7 separate regions of the Homo sapiens genome follow, and regions 1, 2, 3, 4, 5 and 6 are each linked to region 7. Evidence: promoter capture Hi-C in human tissues and cell types (Jung and others, 2019). All regions are on one chromosome and are shown on one strand. Each heading gives the region's core, a stretch centred on a gene start or on the middle of the fragment in contact. The rest is flanking DNA. Distances are from core to core; before and after follow the strand shown.

Evidence for each region. The method cuts DNA at HindIII sites, captures the fragments that hold promoters and counts their contacts. A contact is called where the count stands out against the background at its distance.
Region 1: the fragment with the promoter of ADSL here is called in contact with the fragment with the promoter of MGAT3 in region 7 in 5 of the 25 tissues and cell types used here (IMR-90 fibroblasts, dorsolateral prefrontal cortex, lymphoblastoid cells and 2 more).
Region 2: a fragment that was not itself captured here is called in contact with the fragment with the promoter of MGAT3 in region 7 in 4 of the 25 tissues and cell types used here (dorsolateral prefrontal cortex, liver, lymphoblastoid cells and 1 more).
Region 3: a fragment that was not itself captured here is called in contact with the fragment with the promoter of MGAT3 in region 7 in 1 of the 25 tissues and cell types used here (lymphoblastoid cells).
Region 4: a fragment that was not itself captured here is called in contact with the fragment with the promoter of MGAT3 in region 7 in 1 of the 25 tissues and cell types used here (dorsolateral prefrontal cortex).
Region 5: a contact is called between a fragment that was not itself captured here and the fragment with the promoter of MGAT3 in region 7, in 3 of the 25 tissues and cell types used here (dorsolateral prefrontal cortex, lymphoblastoid cells and mesenchymal stem cells).
Region 6: a fragment that was not itself captured here is called in contact with the fragment with the promoter of MGAT3 in region 7 in 1 of the 25 tissues and cell types used here (spleen).

The regions. Positions count from the first base shown.
Region 1 is chr22:40,344,777-40,347,893 of GRCh38, reverse strand. It overlaps ADSL (adenylosuccinate lyase), which reads right to left and starts at 1,394. Exons shown (of 13, transcript NM_000026.4): 1 at 1,183-1,394. The coding sequence starts at 1,335. RefSeq lists enhancers at 339-851, 852-1,365, 1,366-1,879 and a silencer at 1,052-1,141. The HindIII fragment of the contact is 18,864 bases long and covers 1-3,117 here.
Region 2 is chr22:40,054,595-40,057,582 of GRCh38, reverse strand. It overlaps a transcript of TNRC6B not described here. Among named protein-coding and RNA genes, the nearest start is that of TNRC6B-DT, 12 kb to the right of the region's middle. The HindIII fragment of the contact is 4,520 bases long and covers 1-2,988 here.
Region 3 is chr22:40,196,004-40,198,946 of GRCh38, reverse strand. The region is part of intron 1 of TNRC6B (trinucleotide repeat containing adaptor 6B); the gene reads right to left. Among named protein-coding and RNA genes, the nearest start is that of TNRC6B, 20 kb to the right of the region's middle. RefSeq lists an enhancer at 2,598-2,943. The HindIII fragment of the contact is 3,393 bases long and covers 1-2,943 here.
Region 4 is chr22:40,173,708-40,176,625 of GRCh38, reverse strand. It overlaps a transcript of TNRC6B not described here. Among named protein-coding and RNA genes, the nearest start is that of TNRC6B, 2.8 kb to the left of the region's middle. The HindIII fragment of the contact is 5,621 bases long and covers 1-2,918 here.
Region 5 is chr22:40,309,682-40,312,512 of GRCh38, reverse strand. TNRC6B (trinucleotide repeat containing adaptor 6B) reads right to left here. Exons shown (of 23, transcript NM_001162501.2): 17 at 1,520-1,696; 18 at 1-8. Among named protein-coding and RNA genes, the nearest start is that of ADSL, 35 kb to the left of the region's middle. The HindIII fragment of the contact is 7,129 bases long and covers 1-2,831 here.
Region 6 is chr22:38,875,562-38,878,460 of GRCh38, reverse strand. No RefSeq gene overlaps it. Among named protein-coding and RNA genes, the nearest start is that of CBX6, 4.8 kb to the right of the region's middle. The HindIII fragment of the contact is 3,463 bases long and covers 1-2,899 here.
Region 7 is chr22:39,455,466-39,458,355 of GRCh38, reverse strand. MGAT3 (beta-1,4-mannosyl-glycoprotein 4-beta-N-acetylglucosaminyltransferase) reads right to left here and starts at 1,344. Exons shown (of 2, transcript NM_002409.5): 1 at 799-1,344. RefSeq lists silencers at 219-348, 359-628, 1,359-1,418. The HindIII fragment of the contact is 12,980 bases long and covers 1-2,890 here.

The sequences.
Region 1 (3,117 bases), core at 145-2,644, 890 kb before region 7:
TCACAAACCACAACACATGATTAAGGTCTACTACTATCGCTATCTACGCCAAGAGTTTATTAAGTTGATGCTTCATTCTTCCATCTGTAAAACAGGTACAGTCATAGTATTTCATACCTACTCTTCAGGGTTGTTTGGAGGATTAATAAGCAACCATGTGTAAAGGGTTAAGACCTGGGTCTCAGAAGGCACTATCTGAATGTCTGCTATTATTGTAGTGTATCGCCCAATATTTTGGAGGGCAGTGATAAGGGGAGGGAGGGAATCTAGAATGAAAGTTTCCTGTTTGGAGAGTTCCATGGTACAGGTCCTAGGCCCGAAGTCAAATTGTTTCCATGTTTACTGTGCCGTTTGAGAGGGCATTGCCAACTTGCTCGTTGTGGCACTTTCCTCTGAAACTTGAGGAGAAACATTATCGCTCTCTGGATCACCTTCAGTTTGCTTCAACTCTTCTGGAGCTATTTCTGAAACCGCTGGGCTAAGAAGTTCTCTATGCAGCCCTTAGAAAAGAAATTATAAACCCCGTTTAATAAACCCCTACCCGGAGTCTTCTCCTAAGAGGCAAAGCGGAGGCCAGTGAGGCAGAAACGGTGGCCTAGAAAACAAGCATTCCAGTCCTGTCACTAACTACACAGGCACTGTGGAAAACCAAGGGGCTACGTGCTCAGCTCAGGCTCTGGAGTGCACCCAGGTTCAAATCCCAGTTCCGTTCTTAATAGCTGGATGGGCTAGGGCAAACAACAAGCTGTCCGGGCTTTGTTCTCCCCTGCAATGTGGGAAAAACACCATCAAGCCTGCAAGATCTTCATGGATTACACAAGAAAAGATTAGTGAAATAATGAGCACAACAGTACGAAACAAGCGCTCGGTGTCTGTGGTTAGCAGCGTACTCCTGCGGGGATGGCCAAAATGAATTCCCTGAAACTACAGGCTGAATTTCTCCCAGCCTCCTCCGCGTCTCGAACCCTCTCGGACTGAGAACACGTGAGGCAACAGGTGGCGGCTCCCGGATCTCCTGCCCTTGCTTTCCTGGGGCCGCAGCTCCTCAGGACAGGGAACACCCAGCTGAAAATAGCCGGGCCGCAGCTCCGGGGTGGCTAAGCCCAGCCCGGAACAGAGCCCGGCACGTGCTGGGGCGGGCCCGTCCCTCCCGGCCCAGCCCCTCAGCCCGGGATCCGTTACCTGCTCGGCCTCCGCCAGCCACAGCCACAGCTGCCGCCATGTCCGGAATTTATACCTGTCGCTAAACACGAAGCACATCTCCGGGCTGGCATAGCGGGAGGCAAGAGGTGAGCGGTAGCTGTCGGGCGAACCATGATCGCCTCCAGCCGCCATCCCAACCCTGCGACCCCGCCAGGGTGGACTGGACCAGGGAAGAGCGGAAGCGGAAACCTGGAGGCCAGGGCAGGACGGGGCGGGGCGGGACTTCCTTCACGCGGTCTCGCTCTCTGGGTTCCGGGCGCCCTGGGCGCTGCCGGCTGCGGAGAATCTCCGCTGCTTCTGCCTGAGAATTGACTTGGTTCGCTTCTTTGACCAGAAACATGATTGATGCTTCCTACGTTACTTAGCCGCGCTACACTTTAGTTTTCCTGTCTGAAAAGAGGTACATTAAGACTTCCTTGGCCGGGCGCGGTGGCTCACGCTTGTAATCCCAGCACTGTGGGGGCCCCAGACCGGAGGATCGCTTGAGGCCGACAGATCGAGACCAGCCTGGGCAACACAGGGAGACCCTCCCGTCTCTAAAAAACAAAAAGCAAAAAAAAAAAAAAAAAAAAAGGCCTGCCTTTCGGGTTGTGCGGATTCAGTGTTAGAGCGGTGTCTGGCACACTTGGAAGGCCGTGTGTACGCTTGCTGTTACTCTTATTACTGTCGCCCCACCCACTCCTGCCCGCGGCGCACCGAGCTCGGCTCTAAGGAGAAATGAAGATACCCAAGGGAAATCGGCATTTACTGCGCCCCCAGTGAGCCGGCTGCGGTGGCCTACGCCTGTAATCCCAGCACTTCGGGAGGTCGAGGCAGGCAGATTTCCTGAGCTTAGGAGTTTGAGACCAGCCTGGGCAACACGTGAAACCCTGTCTCTACTAAAATACAAAAAATTAGTCGGGCATGGCGGCCTGTACCTGTAGTCTCAGCTACTTGTGAGGCTGAGACAGGAGAATTTCTTGAACCCGGAAGGCGGAGGTTGCAGTGAGCCAAGATCGCGCCACTGCACTCCAGCCTGGGCGACAGAGCGAGACTCCGTCTCCAAAAAATAAAAGAATTAAATAAATAAATAGAAATAGAAACACTCAAGTGGCCCCCCCCCTTTTTTTTTTTTTTGACAGGGTCTTGCTATGTTGTTCAGTCTGGAGTGCCAGTGGGGTGATCACACAGGAAAGGGTTCATCTGGAGCTGTAAGAGCCAGGTGTCTCAGCTGGGCACGGTGACTCACGCCTATAATCTCAGCACTTTGGAGGCTGAGCTGGGCAGATCGCTTGAGTCCAGGAGTTGGAGACCAGCCTGAGCAACATGATGAAACACTGTCTCTACAAAAAATACAAAAATTAACTGGGTATGGTGGTGTGCACCTGTAGTCCCAGCTACTTGGGAGGCTGAGGTGGGAGAATCACTTGAGCCCAGGATGTTGAGGCTGCAGTAAGCCATGATTTTGCCACTACAGCTTAGGCAACAGTGAGACCCTGTCTCAAAAACAAAACAAACGAAAAGAGCCGGGTGCCTGCACCCTCTCCACCTGCACTTAACTCCTAGCTCTCTGCCTTTTACGTGAGGAATCTAAAGACACTCAAGCCAGGTGTGGTGGCTCACGCCTGTAATCCCAACACTTTGAGAGGCCGAGGCGGGAAGATCGCTTGAGCCCAGTACTATGCTGCTTTGAAATTACTTGTTTCTGAGTGCCTTACTAAAATGAGACCTGTGGAGGAATTCCAATTTTAACTCCCAGTTTATTTGCTGAGAGTTAACTTCACTTTTCCAATAACCATAATATTTCTAGACTATTACAAGTACATGATTAAGGGCCAGGCACGGTGGCTCACACCTGTAATCCCAGCATTTTGGGACGCTGAGGCAGGTGGATCACCTGAGGTCAGGAGTTGGAGACCAGCCTGGCCAACATGG
Region 2 (2,988 bases), core at 367-2,866, 600 kb before region 7:
CAGGCAGGGTGGCTCACGCCTGTAATCCCAGCACTTTGGGAGGCTGCGGATCACCTGAGGTCAGGAGTTTGAGACCAGCCTGACCAACATGGAGAAATCCTGTCTCTACTAAAAATACAAAATTAGCCGGGCGTGGTGGCACACGCCTGTGATCCCAGCTACTCGGGAGGCTGAGGCAGGAGAATCACTTGAACCCAGGAGGCGGAGGTTGCGACGAGCCGAGATGGTGCCATTGTACTCCAGCCTGGGCAACAAGAGCGAAACTCTGTCTCAAAAAAAAAAAAAAAAAACCTGGCATATTTTCAATGTACACATTTAATAAATCAACACCTTTAGGAAAAAAATTCAATGTAACTGTACTATTCACAAGAGGATTAATAAACATGTTCCCTTGTCATAAACCACAGATAGTGTTACCTGGTAAGAAGTTTAAAGGTATAATCAGTATCATCTTTCAATCCTGTGACTTTATCTCGACTGTTTACACCTACTATGTGCAAACCATTCTAGTGGGTGCCATGACAAAACAAAGTAGCATAAACTCATTTTGAGCTCAAGGTATCCAAGATGAGAACCCATGACGACTTCTTACTCTGTTGAGATACTACAAGGAACTTCCAATGAATATAGTCTACCTGTGCCCATGGGAGGAATCTGGTGGCCTTGCCCCATCAAATCTGCTACCATCTCTATTCAAGCAACTTCCATTTTTCTTTCTCCGCTGGGTGCTTCCTGTATATCTTTTAATAGATTATAGATTTTTCTTTCTTTTTTTTTTTTTTTTTGAGACAGGGTGTCACTCTGTCTCTCAGGCTGGAGTGTAGTGATGCAATCCTAGCTCACCGCAGCCTCCAACTCCTGGGCTCATGCAATCCTCCTGCCTCAGCCTTTTGAGTAGCTAGGACTACAGGCATGTGCCATCATGCTCAGTTGATGTTTAAAACATTTTTTGTAGAGATGGGGGTCTCACTATGTTGCTCAAGCTGGTCTCGAACTCCTGGCCTCAAGTGATCCTCTTACTCTGGCTTCCCAAAGTGCTGGGATTACAGGCATGAGCCACTGCACCCAGCCTGATTTTCTATCTTACTTAAAGGTGTTGCCTTCTCAACCTCGTCCTGCTTCCATTTTTCTCTGTCCTTTCTCTTCCAAACATCTTAAACTAAACTGCATTCATTACTACCATTCTCCCTATCATCACTTAGCTCCTTAGCCCTTTGTTATGTAGATCAAATACATACACAGAACTTGCAGAAATCGGCATTACCGTAAGTCAATTAACATCTTGTGAGTGTAATCAGCACTACCAGAGCATAATCACTTCTTCCCATTTGAAAAATATCAAGCTCTGAATATGCAAAGCTGAGAAACATTAGTTTAGCCAACAAGGTATGGACATCCTGCAACTGAAAGCAACTTAGCGGAAATAGAATGGAAGATGGCTAGAGATGGGGTGGATGGGGAAAGGAGACACTACTTAAGAGTAACAGGGAGAGAAAAATGGATAGGAGGAGACAGAAAAGGAAAGAGACATTGAAAACAAATAGGAGTAAATGAAGGAAAATGGGCTACATTTTTATCCAATTAATCTCCCTTTTTCAAATCTGGTTGAGAATTAAATTAGATTAATGTTAGCTCAGTGAACCACTTGGAGACTTGGAGATATGTAAAGACCTTCAAGCTGTAGGAACTGTCTTTCCCAGAACATATACCAGAGGCCCTTCTGGGTAGTCCTCTTTTCTGATTTCCTCTCTTTCACTGGTTCAGTGTCTGATCCATTTGAGATGGTATCAGCACTCACCTCAGGTGATCTAGAAGTCACTTCCTTTACACTCTCTGCTCCTACAGATAAGCTTAAATGAGTCACCACTTTCTAATTCCACCTAACATCATTTGCATGGTTATAGGTACACCACTGAAGCAAGTATATTAACTAGAAGTGACAAGTGCCGTTGTGGTTTATGATTATCTTCTCTGAATGGTACTCTATGCCTTTATGAATTCAAACATACAGATTCAGATCATTATTCTAAGGTCATTTCCTGTCCTAAACTGCAGTGGAGTAAGAGGCTGAGTCTGACATATCATGGTTCAACTGTAAGTCAGCTATTAGCCCTGTACCCTAATGCCAGCCTTGTAAAGCATACCGCTGTGCCGGTCATCTTCTCCACATACTAAAAACGCTCCCCCATGCCTCTACACAGGCTGTTCTCTCTGCCGGAAATGCCCTTTTCCTCCACAACTTAGTGTGAGTGTCACCTTCCCTGGGAAGGCTTTCTCAACCTCCCCATCGTGTTGATGACCTTCCTTTTCATCCCCGCAGCACCTCTTGTACTGTCTATTACAGCACTTATTACACTAAATGGCACTCATCTGTGTCCACATCTGTCTCACCCACCTGGCTGTGCATTCCTTGGGAACAAAGATCTCCTTTCGCCCCACCTCTGTAGTCCTGGCTCCTAGCACAGCATTCAGCATGTCTATGCATTCAAATGTTTAGTGAGAGCGTCATCATGTCAAGCCCAAGCATAATTTCTTTTCTTTTTTTGGAGACGGAGTCTTGTTCTGTCACCCAGGCTGGAGCTTAATGGTGCAATCTCAGCTCACTGCAACCTCTGCCTCCCGGGCTCAAGCAACCTTCCTGTATCAGCCTCCCGAGTAGCTGGGACTACTGGCGCGCACTACTACAACCAGCTAATTTTTTTTTTTTTTGTAGAGATGGGTTTCACCATGTCACCCAGGCTGGTCTCGAACTCCTGGACTCAAGTGACCTGCCTGCCTTGGCCTCCCAAAGTGCTGGCATTACATGCATGAGCCACCAAGCTTTGCCTAAAATGAGGTTTTTTAGAAATTCTATTTTAAATTCTCTTTCTTAACTTCATTTGAAAAAATATTTATTGAGGACCTACTATGTGCAACTCACAGTGCTAGATGTTGGTGACACAAATGTGAATAAAACAGAGTATTTTTATTCATGTAGCTATTTTCCAG
Region 3 (2,943 bases), core at 439-2,938, 740 kb before region 7:
TAGTGGAAAATGGGATATAGAAGCCAAGATCTAGAAACCTGATACACTCACTGCTATTGGAATACTGCTGTTCCCAGGCACCCTCCCCCTCTACTACCAACAGAACTAGGAAACAGATGTGCGTATGTATGTGCACACACATATGCATATAAATACACATGCATGCATGCCTTTTGCAAAGATTTTATTGCTATTTTTATCGGTCCTTATTAAAATCCAGGCATTCACACCAATACTTCTGATTCCGATCTAGCATCACAGGGTTAATTCTAGCTGTCTCCTTTCCAATATCTGTAATGTTCTTCAACAGTGAGAGCTGCTGGGGGCCATTATCCTGAACATACTTATTTCATCAATCCTCCTATATTCAACCAATCAATACAGGAAGGGCATCCCAGAAGCAATGGATGCCCTTCTCACCTCTCCTGGGCTCTGACACAGCACACCAGACCCTCCCTCCTCATCCTACTCAGGCTCTGATACCCCTGGCCAGGCCAACACCTTGCTGAGCCCACTTAATAGCCTCTAGGACTGAACTGTTCAGGAAGGAAAAGAGAGAGAAAAGAAGAATGCTTTTAAAATTAAAAAGAATTAATGTAAAAATGTATTTTTTAAAGAATATCTGTTAAGTTAGAACTTGTAATAATTCAGACGGCCAAACTAAAATTCAACTTTGCATCATCTATGAAGAACAGGTTTGCTAAGTAAATTAATAGTGTAAACAAGCTTGTAACCCAGATATTTAACCTACTTAAGAAAACTAATTGTTTTCAAGCACTTTAAAATCACTGGGCATGTACTTGCCTTTAATTATTGTCTAATTACAAATGACTTCTATTTTCTTCGTTATAGCTTTGATAAGCCTTCTGATTATGCTTTAAGAATTACAACTTAAACTCAATACAGTTTAGATCCTTTAAAAATGTCTTTATTAATCAATTGGTTTTTCAATTAATCACCTGAAGTAAACTTTTTAACCATTCAGTGATTTTTCTTTTTTAGTTAATCTGTCATGTTGCTTAAAAAGAAAAAATGGGCCAGGCATGGTGGCTCATGTTTGTAATCCCAGCGCTTTGGGAGGCTGAGGTGGGAGAATCACTTGAGCCCAGGAGTTCAAGACCAGCCTGAGCAGCACAGGGAGACCCTGTCTCTGTTAAAAGAAGTTTTTTTTAATTAGCCAGGCACGGTGGCTCATGCCTGTAGTCCCAATTACTTGCGTGGCTGAGACAGGAGGATCTCAGCTTGAGCCCAGAAGGTCGAGGCTGCACTGAACTATGAATCGCACCACTGCACTCCAACCTGGGCAACAGAACAAGACTTGTCTCAAAAAAAAAAAAAAAGAAAAAGAAAAACGCCTTTCGGCTGGGTGCGGTGGCTCATGCTTGTAATCTCAGCACTTTGGGAGGCCGAGGGGGGTAGATCATGAGGTCAGGAGTTTGAGAACAGCCTGGCCAACATAGTGAAACCCCGTCTCTACTAAAAATACAAAAAATCAGCCTGGGTGTGGTAGCAGGCACCTGTAATCCCAGCTACTTGGGAGGCTGAAAAGCAGGAGAATCGCTTGAACCCGGGAGGTGGAGGTTGCAGTGAGCTGAGATCAAGCCATGTGCTGCGCTCCAGCGAGGGGCAACAGTGTGAGACTCTGTCTCAAAAAAAAACAAGAAAAACACCTTTCAGCAGCCAGCCAGGGATGCTCCCAAAGACCTCCTATTCTGCACACGATCAGCACAGTCTCATTCTCCTGTTGTTTATCATGAATGCAGTGCTGAGGACACCATAAAGCCAGCAAGCTGTTCCCGTCATCTGCATCCATATTTTAAGACACTCCACTTTATAATACAGGGATTCAACCAATCAATTAGCAAATCACTCTGCACTGTGTTTAAGGCAGCTTGGGAAGAGAAGAAAATTTTGGTGGAGTTACAGCACCCAGTTCCTCCACCTCCTCATGTGTACATGGCTGCAGCCTGGTCACTGAGCTGTCAGCACTCCTTTTTTCTTATGAAGATAAAACCATCCTCCACATCAGGTTGTTGGGAGGACTAAATGAGGTAATGGAAGTGTGTGCAGCATAATAGGCACTTAATGAATCAGTTCATGTCCCTTCCCCCCGACCAGAGCCTTATGGAAAAACTCAGCATGACTCAGAGCAATGTTTTAAAATTTGGTTACACAGAACCTCAGAGAGAAGCTACTGCAGAGTACAGGTCATAACTGCGAGCCTGAACCACATCTGCCCTATCACTGCCCCGACCCAAACAAAGGGAAACCAGAAAAAAACATCAGCAAGAGTTCCAGAAAAAAACATCAGCAAGAGTTCCATAATCTAAAAATGAGCAACCAACTCATCCCTGCCTCAGGAGAATAGAAATATTCTAGGAGAAAGAAATGAACAAATAAGCTGTTTTTTCTACCCTGACTTCCAAATAAAGGTGCCAACAAGTCCTAGAGACTCCAACGAGGCCCAGTTTTAGGGTCCTGGACCACTGAGGCACTCATTTATTCAGTGGTGGGTTATCTGGTTTTTACCTCTAGATCTATTAAGTACCAGTAACTATTAGGATTTAACATGTGATAGAAGAAGATCACATTATTAAAAATCCATTAGAAAGCCCCACCTCTACAAAAAAATTAGCCAGGCATGGTGGTGGAGCCTGTAGCCCCAGCTACTCTGGTAGCTGAGATGGAAGGACTGCTTGAGCCCGGTAGGTTGAGGCTGAGATTGTGACATTGCACTCCAACAGACTGAGACCCTGTCTCAAAAAAAGAAAAAAATCCATTAGAGGTAAGCAATTTTTAAAATCAAAGGTGTTAACAATATGATGCACTATGGGCCAACCTAGCAGTGTATTAAAAAGAAAAAAAAAAAAGGCTGGACGCGGTGGCTCACACCTGTAATCCCAGGACTTTGGGAGGCTGAGGCAGACGGATCACGAGGTCAGG
Region 4 (2,918 bases), core at 411-2,910, 720 kb before region 7:
ACATAGGAGGTAAATAAATGAATAAATCAATGACTTGGACCCTATTCAGAAGGGCTGGGCTGAGTAGGAGGAAATCTGCCACCTGAATATAAAAAATGTAGGGGAATGAGGGTCACATAGTTCCCAGAAACTCGCATTCATCTATGTTTTAAGGACGGCTTCAGGAAAGAAAGTAACTAAAATGGTAAAAAGCGCATGAGGCCGGGTGCGGTGGCTCATACCTGTAATCCCAGCACTTTGGGAGGCCGAGGCAGGCAGATCACCTGAGGTCGGGAGTTCGAGACCAGCCTGACCAGCATGGAGAAACCCCGTCTCTACTAAAAATACAAAATTAGCCAGCGTGGTGGCACATGCCTGTAATCCCAGCTACTAGGGAGGCTGAGCTTAGCAGGAGAATCGCTTGAACCCGGGAGGCGGAGGTTGTGGTGAGCCGAGATCGCGCCATTGCACTCCAGACTGGGCAGCAAGAGTGAAACTCCATCTCAAAAAAAAAAAAAAAAAAAGTGCATGAGAATGCCCTGTGACTATCGACTCCACCTATCTCTATAAGCCAGAAAAGGGAGGATTCCCTAGTGTGCTTCTCCCATAAACTAGGCTGCCATGCCAGCCAGCAGACAACTGATGGATTCTAGAAACCCGGCTTTCCTTGAAAAGGAACCTACGAATGCTTGTAAAATCCCACAACACTTGTTGTCATCCTGGCTTCTGGGTCTTTATACAGTCTCCCGCCTTTGCTCTTTCCACTCAGATATGACGACAGGAAAGGAGCTGTTTCATGGCAGGCAAAGGCCAATGCCTGGACAATCTGGTAGCCTGAATAGCTGTGGCTTAACAAGCTTCCACTGTCTTTGCCTAGCACTGAGTGAAATAGCCAGGCCCTGCACTGACAATTGAGATGCAGGAAAAAGCAGGAAACTACTAGAATGGAAATTCTGATTATTTAGTCTATTTTTATCCTTCCAATACCTTCCAGATGAGTTACTGAAAGCCTACTTGCTTGTAGCTGGCTCGATTTGTAAAAATGTGTGGAGACTGAACATCCACCTTGTTTTAATTTGTGATGGACATGCTTTCTTTATGAAACTGAACTTTGCTAAGTCTCCATTCCCCAGTGTAGAATATTATTGTATACAAATATTTATATGTGTTGCCTTGTAAGTGTTAAATAGCAAACTGCATGAAAAGTTTGGAAACAGAACAAACATATTTTAAATAAAATATTGGTTCTAATTTCAAATAATATGCTGAAAACATATATATATATATTTTGAGACAGAGTCTTGCTCTGTCACCCAGGCTGGAGTGCAGTGGCATGGTATCGGCTCACAGGAACCTCCACCTCCTGGGTTCAAGCGATTCTCCTGTCTCAGCCTCCTGAGTAGCTGGGATTACAGACACATGCCACCATGCCCAGATAATTTTTGTATTTTTAATAGAGACAGGGTTTCACCATGTTGGCCAGGCTGGTCTCGAACTCCTGACCTCGTGATCTGCCCACGTCAGCCTCCCAAAGTGCTGAGATTACAGGCATGAGGCACTGCGCCCGGCCACTGAATATTTTTTCCTTAACCTCCACATCATCTTTTCTATGCAATACCTCTAAATTTAATACAATTAGTCTAATCGTTTATCTAAAACAAACAAGTGCAATAAATACATTATTTCTCCCTTGTGTTTCCAGACATAATAGATTCTGTGATAGATTTATTATACTTTTTTCATATTAACAATTAGACAATATTTTAAAATTATATTATTGTAAGGTAAGGACACAAAGAAATAAATTTTTTTTTTTTTTTTTGAGATGGAGTCTCGCTTTGTCGCCCAGGCTAGAGTGCAGTGGTGCTATCTCGGCTTACTGCAAGCTCCGCCTCCCGGGTTCACGCCATTCTCCTGCCTCAGCCTCCCGAATAGCTGGGACTATAGGTGCCTGCCACCACGCTCGGCTAATTTTTTTGTATTTGTAGTAGAGACGGGGTTTCACTAAATCACCTCGTGATCACCTCGTGATCTGCCGGCCTCAGCCATAAAAATTATTTTCTAAAACTAAAAACAAGAACATTCAAATGACTGTTATCTTTCAAAGCTGGCACCTTTGGAGGTTACATACCATTCCTCAAAATATTTTTATCAGAAAACATGATTGGCCAGGCATGGTGGCTTATACCTGTAATCCCAGCACTTTGGGACGCCGAGGTGGGTGGATCACTTGAGGCCAGGAGTTCGAGACCAGCTTGGCCAACATGGCAAAATCCCGTTTCTACTAAAAATAACAAAAATTAGCTGGGCATGGTGGCACACGCCTGTAGTCCCAACTACTCAGCAGGCTGAGGCTCAAGAATCACTTGAAGCCAGAAGGTGGAGGCTGCAGGTTGCAGTGAGCTGCAGTGAGCAAGGTCGTGCCACTACCCTCCAGCTGGGGCAATAGAGCAAAACTCTGTCTCTAAAAAAAAAAAGAAAAAGAAAAAGAAGAAAACAAGATTGAAAAATAACTGAACTGAGTATTTAACTCAAAAATCTAGAAAAAGGCTGGGCGTGGTGGCTCACGCCTGTAATCACAGCACTCTGGGAGACTGAGCCAGGCAGATCACCTGAGGTCAGGAGTTCAAGACCAGCCTGGCCAACATGGTGAAAACCCAACTCAAAATACAAAATTTAGCTGGGCATGGTGGTACCTGCTGGTAATCCCAGCTACTTGGGAGGCTAAGGCAGGACAATTACTTGAACCTGGGAGATGGTGGTTGCAGTGAGCTAAGATCATGCCACTGCACCCCAGCCTGGACAACAGAATGAGATTCTGTCTCAAAAAAAAAAAAAAAAAAAAAAAAAAAATATATATATATATATATATGTTCAAAAATCTAGAAAAAGAGTTAATAAACCCCAAAAATGAATAAATATAAAAGCAAGGCTGGCCA
Region 5 (2,831 bases), core at 205-2,704, 850 kb before region 7:
TTGGAATTCTGAGACAAGGAAAACAAATATTAGAGAAGGAAGGTCGTTAAAAAAAAATGATATAGTACTTTTTTTGACATAAGAAATGGGTCTGTGAAAAGTATAAATACTGAATTTATTGTCTCTTAGATTTTCATCACAAAATTAAGGAAAAAAAAATCACCATGAACATACTCTTGCCAACAGCACCTTTGTTTTATCACACTGTCTGTGGCAGTCAACTGGAAGCCACAGCTCATCAGAGCCTGTCCCCAGTAACCTGATCCTCCTGCTCCCAGGAGACTTCAGGGCTGAAGGCAGGGAAAGCAGGAGTAAGGACTCTGGTGTTCACAAGAATCATCCCAGCATCTAGGCCAAGAACCGGTGAAAATATGGGCTAGAGATCAGTGCTCTTTCTCATTTTCCTTACGAGATGTTGGCCAAAATGCAAAAAATGTAATACAAATGATACTGCTACACAGAATGTCCAGGGATAACCAGCAGGGATAATTTAGCTTAGCAAAAGAAAGCCTAGAATATACATAAGGGCTCGGAATTTTTTTATTGGTCAATTTAAATCATTTTAAAATTTTAAGGCTATGTGACACAATAAACTTTTATTTTCCAAATCGTGATGAGAAAGAGCAATGTGTATTATATATGAACGATCTGCATTATACAGTTCTACTTTGGCCGGGCGTGGTGGCTCACGCCTGTAATCCCGGCACTTTGGGAGGCCGAGGCGGGCAGATCACCTGAGGTCAGGAGTTTGAGAACAGCCTGTCCAACATGGCGAAACCCTGTCTCTACTAAACATACAAAAAATTAGCCAGGCGTGGTAGCAGGCGCCTGTAATCCCAGGTACTTGGGAGGCTGAGGCAGGAGAATCGCTTGAACCTGGGAGGCAGAGCTTGCAGTGAACCAAGATCGCACCACTGCACTCCAGCCTGGGTAATAAGAGCAAAACTCCCTTTCAAAAAAAAAAAAAAATTCTACCTTAATAAAACGAAACTATACATATTCATGTCACAAATACGCATGCACAGAAAGAGGTCTAGGAGGATATATATTTATGGAATTACTGATTTTAATTTTTGCTTTATTAAATGTTCTCATTTTTCTATCATGAGAATAGATTACTATATCCAACAAAAGGGAGGGACAGAAAGAAAAGAATTAACAAATAATCTCATTGCAATCGCTACTGCATACCTAGAAGCTAACTGGTAATACACACTTGCCTAAGAACTAACAAATCAATTCAACAGACACTTCAAAAGAACCCATGTTACAAGGCATCCTATGCATGGGACGAATGCAAAGTCCCACCTACAATGTCACTTATCCCCAGATTCCCCATCTAATGAAAATTTTCTATCTTCCCACAGCACATGCCTTGCTTCTAACAGACAATTATTGAATGAAAAAAATAAAAGCAAGTACCTTAGTAACATGAATCACAAAAGCAATGTATTCTGAACCTGAAACTGACAATTACAAAACAAATGCTATCCTGGGAAAAGCATTTCCTAGACAATACCTGGAGGCCAACTGGCATTGCTGGATTTACTTCCGATTTTATTTGTTGGTGGAGATTTGGCAGGTAACCAGCTATCACCAGCAGGACCCGTATGGCCACCCAGTGTGTCACCAGGGATGATATCAAACTGGTTGTACGGTGACCCTCCCCGGGTTTTACCAGGGGCCACTATAGCGCCTGAGAAAAGAGAGGAAATTAAATCATCCAGAATAACTCCTATGAATAGAACTTGTCTATTTTTTATTCGCTGGAATGCAAACAGTCTTCTGAAGCTGATGGAGTATATACAAACAGCACTGGAATAAGAGGTTGCATTCGAGACTCAGCACAGAATTACTAAGCAGCATGACCAACAACAAGTCATTTCGCCTCTCTGAGCCTCTCAGTTCCTCACTTAGGCACACAGGATTGTTCTCATGCTTGAATGTTCCTTTCAGTTTTAAAATTCCATGGTCTTATGAAATTAATGAAACGTTCACATACTAGGAATCTGACCATTATCCCTAGTTTCTATGCTAACGACTCAAGAGTGAGAAATGGGGAAAATTCTAACCATTTGTAGCACATAAGAAGGTTTTAACTAAATTTCTACTGATGCTATCCACCCAGGTTCTTAAGGGCTGGCTGATCAGGCTTAGATTAGCTGGAAGCAGCAGTGTAAACAGAGAGTCCATTGGAGGGAAAAGCATCTGCAATTGCTTTAAATTCCAACGCAATGAGATGGAATTCCCGCCTAGGGTCTTTGCCAGCACAAGACCAGCAATGAACTCTGCAGCTCTGGGATCCGTGGCCTCACACATGAAGAACAGCAAATCCTTTGTAACTGGTTTCCTGAGAGCACTTCAGTGGTTTTGTCGCTGCCCCCATCATGCATTTTATATGCTATGGGGCAGGAAAATAATTAAAAGCTTAAAATTACCTTGAACTAACAGAACATGCACTTTGAATAAAATTTTAGGTATCAGTGAGATACCAGTCTACTTATTTCTCAAATGAATTTTACATACTATATTGGGTCACTTGATCTATTCTTAGGATGCTGCTTGTGAAGGGATAAAATTATTTCCAGGGTGATGCAGCCTAATGGGAATATTATCAAAACTACCTCCATACTCAGGCTAAGAGGGCATTTACTTTTCTGGAGCCACTGACAAATCTGGCTCAGAGGCACATTATGGTGAAGCAGTGGAAAATGACAAGCTCAATTACTTTGGGGATTGCTAAGGAAATGGGAAAACATGATCTATAAGCTCTAAAAAGGCAAGTAGAGATTTTGCCTTTGAGATATCCTCTCACATGCCATTTCAGATTT
Region 6 (2,899 bases), core at 210-2,709, 580 kb after region 7:
CCTGTTCCTGAATCTGGACTGGCCTGATATATTAGTTTGCTATGCTCTATCACTGATTGCTTAAAGCAATACCCCTTTATCATTTCAGTTTCTGTGGGTCAGAAGTCCAGGCACAGCTTAACTGAAGTCTCTGCTCAGGGTCTCACAGGCTGCAATCCAGGTGTCAGCTGGCGCCACATCCCCATCTGAAAACTCAGAGTTCTCCTCCAAGCTCAGTGGCTAGTCACAGAATTCAGATCCTTGTGATTGTAGGACTGAGGTCCTCAGCTCCTGGAAACCACCCACCACCGTTCCTGCCACATGGCCCTCTCCACAACATGGCATCTTGCCTCTTCAAGGTCAACAGGAGCGCAATTCCACTGCTTCCAACCTTTCCTCTTGGGAGAGGCTTGGATTGTCTTTCAAAGAGCTCGCCTGATTAGGTCAGACCAAGATAAACTCCCTTTTGAATAAGTCAAAGTCAACTTAAAGGACCTTAATTATGTCTACAAAACCTTGTTTGTTTGTTTTTGAGACAGAGTGTTGCTCTGTTGCCCAGGCTGGAGTGCAGTGGCACAATCTTGGCTCACTGCAACCTCCGTCTCCCAGGTTCAAGTGATTCTCCTGCCTCAGCTTCCCCAGTAGCTGGGATTACAGGTGTCCACTACCACGCCCAGTTAATTTTTGTATTTTTAGTAGAGATGGGGTTTCATCATATCGGCCAGGCTGGTCTCAAACTCCCGACCTCAGGTGATCTACCCACCTCGGCCTCCCAAAGTGCTGGAATTACAGGCAGGAACCACCACACCCGGCCTGTTTTTTCAATATAACCTAATCATGGGAGCAAAATCCCAACACGTTCCTTAGGTCCCTCTCATGCTCAAAGGGAGGGGATTATACAGGACATGTACACTGGGTTGGGGGAGGCAGGAACCTTAGTGGCCTTGAAATCTGCTCACCATACCTTGTGACTTGCTTTGACCAACAGAATGCAGAGGGAGCAATGTTGTGTAAGTTCCAAGGCAAGACCTTAAGAAGCTTTGTGTGTCTCTCACCTTCTTGTGTGACTCCTGGAACCACATAAGCAAGCTTGAAGTAGACTATGAATGATGAGAGACCACGAGGAGAGAGAGGCCCAGCCAGCATCCAGTACTATGACTCCAGATGTACACATCAAGCCTTGGCCTTGTCTCTGACCGTGGCCACACCAGTTACCCTATACAAGAGCAGGAAAGAGAACCATCCAAAGTGCCCGTCAAACACAGAATCATGAGAGATAATAGATTCTTGTGTTTTAAGCTACTAAATTTTTGTTTGCTGTACTACAGGTTTTTTTGGTGAAAGGAAGGTAAGTCTCAGGACCCCCAAATCACTAAGCCAAAAAGAAAGTTGTTGGCCGGGTGCGGTGGCTCACATCTGTAATCCCAGCACTTTGGGAGGCCGAGGCGGGCAGATCACGAGGTCAGAAGATCGAGACCATCCTGGCTAACACAGTGAAACCCCGTCTCTACTAAAAATACAAAAAATTAGCCGAGTGTGGTGGTGGGCACCTGTAGTCCCAGCTACTCGGGAGGCTGAGGCAGGAGAATGGCATGAACCCAGGAGACAGAGCTTGCAGTGAGCCGAGATCGCGCCACTGCACTCCAGCCGGGGCGACAGAGCGAGACTCCATTTCAAAAAAAGAAAAGAAAAAAAAAAGAAAGACAGTTGTTGCCTTTTTTGGGGTTGAAATTTGAACCCAAAAAATCACTAAGTCAAGCTGGGGACTGCATCAGGCAAACTTGGCTCCCATTTTTTCCCCAAATAAGATAGTTACAAAGATTAAAAAACTACATATCTCCTTCAGAGTTTGCCCCCAAGGAATTTCCATGTGGGCCTCAGCATCTTTACCCTAAAACAGTTCTGTTGAATTTCACCTTGGCAATGTAAATTGATAGTTTATCTTAACAGATGCGGGACAAGGACAGAACTCAAAGTCATCCCTCTTCCCACCCGAGACAAATGCATATCTGATTGCTTCCTCCGCCTGTTGCTTATGTAAAAATGCAGATTCACTGAGACAGACTGAGGCATAAGTGACTCTTCCTCTACCCTCCTCACATGTAAATTGTGTACTCAGTGAAAGGCTGATCAGAATCAAAATAATACAACCTTTTGTCTCTTATCTACCTACCACCTGGAAGCCCCCACTTCGAGTTGCCCCACCTTTCCAGACTGAACCAATGTACATCTTAAATGTACTGATTGATGTCTCATATCTCCCTAAAATGTATAAAACCAAGCTATACCCCTATCACTTTGGGTACAAGTCATCAGGACCTCCTGAGGCTATGTCACGGGCACGTCCTTAACCTTGGCAAAATAAACTTTCTACATTGATTGAGACTTGTCTCAGATAGTTTTGGTTCACAATTTCATAGGAAACTGATTTGCCCTCTGTCTGGGCAACAACTCACACAGGCTAAGAGATCAATTTTTTTCCTTTGTGATGTTACACCAAACCTCAGAACTATAGACTGTCAGAGGTGGAGGGGATTTTTTTCTCATAGAATAGAGACTATCTTCTCCAGGTGCTCATAAACAAGGGAAAAGCATGTGAGAAGTCCATAAATCTCTCCAAAATTTTGGAATGACTTGGAAATAACAGATTTTCAAAAGAGTCACCTGCAGCTTGTCGCAGTGGCTCACGCCTGTAATCCCAGCACTTTGAGAGGCCAAGGCGGGCGGATCACGAGGTCAGGAGTTTGAGACCAGCCTGGCCAACATAGTGAAACCCCGTCTCTACTAAAAATACAAAAATTAGCCTGGCAAGGTGGCGCGCCTATAGTCCCAGCTACTCAGGAGGCCAAGGCAGGAGAATCACTTGAACCTGGGAGGCGGAGGTTGTAGTGAGCCAAGATCACGCCACTGCACTCCAGCC
Region 7 (2,890 bases), core at 95-2,594:
GGGCATCTTCCGGGGCTGGGGGTCATCCGACCTCAGACCACTAGGTCTGGCCGCGCGGCATCCCTTCCTGCTGCACCCCAGCTCAGGAACCCCACCATACACACACCCAGGCGCACTCCCCTCCCCACTCCCGGTTCCAGAACTCACTATTTGCAGATATTTATAGCGCCCTCCCTCAGCCAGGTTCCCTCCCCCGCCCTGGGCAGAGCAATGCAAGGAGCCGGGGGCCCCCACCCCGGTAAATGGCCGGGGGCCCTCTCCACATTTGCCTCTGCCTGGTCCCCAGGGGTAGCTACGGCCGCAGCCCCCGCACCCGCCCAGCCCCCGACTGCGCTTGGGCCTCGGCTGCCGCCGCCGCAGTCTGGGGTCGGGGGTGGGGAAGGCGGGCGCGGAGGCCTCCCACCCCAGCCCCGCGCCGCGCCGGAGGTTGTGGGGGAGCCGCGCCGGAGGCTGGGGGGTGCCGCGCACAAAGCACGGCTCGAGCCCCGCGCCTCGGGGACGTCCCCCGCCCGGCCGTGGGAGGGGGTCGGGCGCTGAGGCTCTGCCCTCCGGGGACCGGGGAGCTCGGAGGAGCGGCGGGTAGGGGGAGGGGGCCCGCGCCGAGCGGCTTCCCCGGCATCCCGCCCCCACCGCGGCCTCCGGGCCCCCAGCCCCAGTGCGCCCGCGCCCGCCCCCTAAGGTCACGCTCGGGGAGTGGGCCGCGGAGCCGGGCGGGGGGCGCCAAGCGCAGCGCGGGAGGGCGGGCAGCGCGGGGATAGAGGGGCCGCGGCGCCCCCCAGGACGCCGGGGTCAACTCACCCATCGCCCGCTGGGTCTCAGCAACGGCGGCAGCAGCGGCGGCGGCGGCTCCGCGGCCCCCGGGGTCCCCGGCGGGGAGATGCTGGCGTCCGCCGCAGCCTCTCGCCCCATCCCGGGCTCCGGCGGCAGCGGCTGCGGCGGGCGCCCGGCATCGCAGGCAGCGCGGCCCCGGCCCGGCCCCGATCCCCTCCCCCCACCCCCACTTCCACCCCGTCCCGGGGACCCGGCGCGGCCGCTCGGCTGCACCCCGGGGCGGCGGCGGGGGCCCGGCGAGCGGACGGGCGCGGGGGAGGGACCGCGGCGGGCGCGCGGGGGGCGCGGAGGCGAGGCCGAGCGCGGCGCGCAGGGGTGCCCGCTCCCGCCGGCTCAAGCGGCTCCGGCCCCCACCCCGCCCCCTCCGCAACCCCCTCCCCTCCCCCGCCAGCCGGGCTCCGCCGCCGCGCCGGGCCGGGGGCGCCTCGCACCGCAGACTCCGGCCGCCGCCGCCCCGCGCCGCCCGCGCGTGCTGGATCGAGTGTGTGCGTGTGCGAGCGAGTGTGTGTGAGTGCGAGTGTGCGCGCGCCCCTCCTGTGACCGTGCGTGCGCCGGCCCACGGCCCGGGGCGGCCTGCGCGGGGGCGTGTGCGGGGAATGCGGGTAGTTCGGAGTGCGGGCCTGGTGTGCGTGCGGGGCAGCAAGTCCCGTTCTGTGTATGCGTGGACGGGTGCGTTCCGCAGCGTGCCCGGGTCGGTGTGACTCCGTGTGCCCGAGTCTGTGCCTGTGTGTGCATGGACGTGCAGATCCGTGTTGCGGTGTGTGCGTGGATGCGCCTGTGCCCGCGTGAACCTGGGCCGGGATTTCGCATAGGCATCTGTGACCATGTGCAGAGGCCTGGGCCTGTGATGTGTGCACGGTGCCGGGCCTGTTACGGTGTCTGCAGAGTCTGTGTGTCTGCTTGGGGCGTGGGTGACCGCTGTACACCGGCCTGTGTCCTTCCGTCCGACCCCCTCCGTCCCTCACATGCCCGAAGCCACCTGCGCACTCCTGGGGTAACTGGGGGGGCCTCCCCTCCCCCGCCCCCCTCACCCGGCCACCCTAGGCCCGGTCGGCCCTGCCAACCCTCTTGAGCCTACTCTCCTGCCACTTGCCCACCAGCGGTTCTCCGAGGGCCCACCGTGTCGTGCCCTGGCTCCTCGTGGCCTTGCTCTAGGCCATTCCTCTCAGGGCTCAGAGGCGTCCCCCACGTGTTTCCCGCCTTTCAAGTGGTTCCGTTCTGGGGCCTACAGAGCAGCCACTTCCTCCCGCGGTGCGAGGCACAAGGCATTGTGGGTACGCAGCAGACATCTCTGCGCCGCCATCGTCGAAGGTGCAGGGATGCGCTACCTATTCTATATCCCAGCGAATGTGCTCCAGAATAGTCCCAGAGGCCTTTGCTGAACCATCCGGGCTGCCTAGGGCTGGTCTACCTGCTCCAGGTGCCTCCGTGCCCAGCTTCATCCATCCTTGCTGAGGAGGCAGAGTGATCCTACTCCAACATTCACTTGAGCAGGTCACTCTCCTGCCTGCACCTTCAATGGCTCCCACTTGCCCTCAGCTTAAGTTCAGTGCCTGGGCGGGGCACAGGGAGCCCCTGGTGACCTAGTCTTGCCCCCTTCTTCAACGTCACCCTCACTGCTCTTTTCTTCCTGGAGGCTCTCTCTAAGCAAGGGTGGGCAAACCATTTGCTTTAAGAGATTGATTGTAAATCTTTTAGGCTTTGCCAGCCATATGGTCTCTGTCCCAACTACTCAACTCTGCCATCGTAGCATAAAATCAACCATAGACAATACGTAAAAGAATGAGCCTGGCGGTGTTCCAATAAAACTTTATGGACACAAAAATTTGAATTTCGTGTCATTTTCACGTGTCCAGAAACATTTTTTGATGTTTTCCCAACCATTTGAAAGTGTAAGATCCATTCCTAGTTCCTATCACTCTAAGCACATTCCATTATAACATCTCCATGGGCCGGGCATGGTGGCTCATGCCTGTAATCCCAGCACTTTGGGAGGTTGAGGCAGGTGGATCAGAAGGTCAGGAGTTCAAGACCAGCCTGACAACATGATGAAACCCCA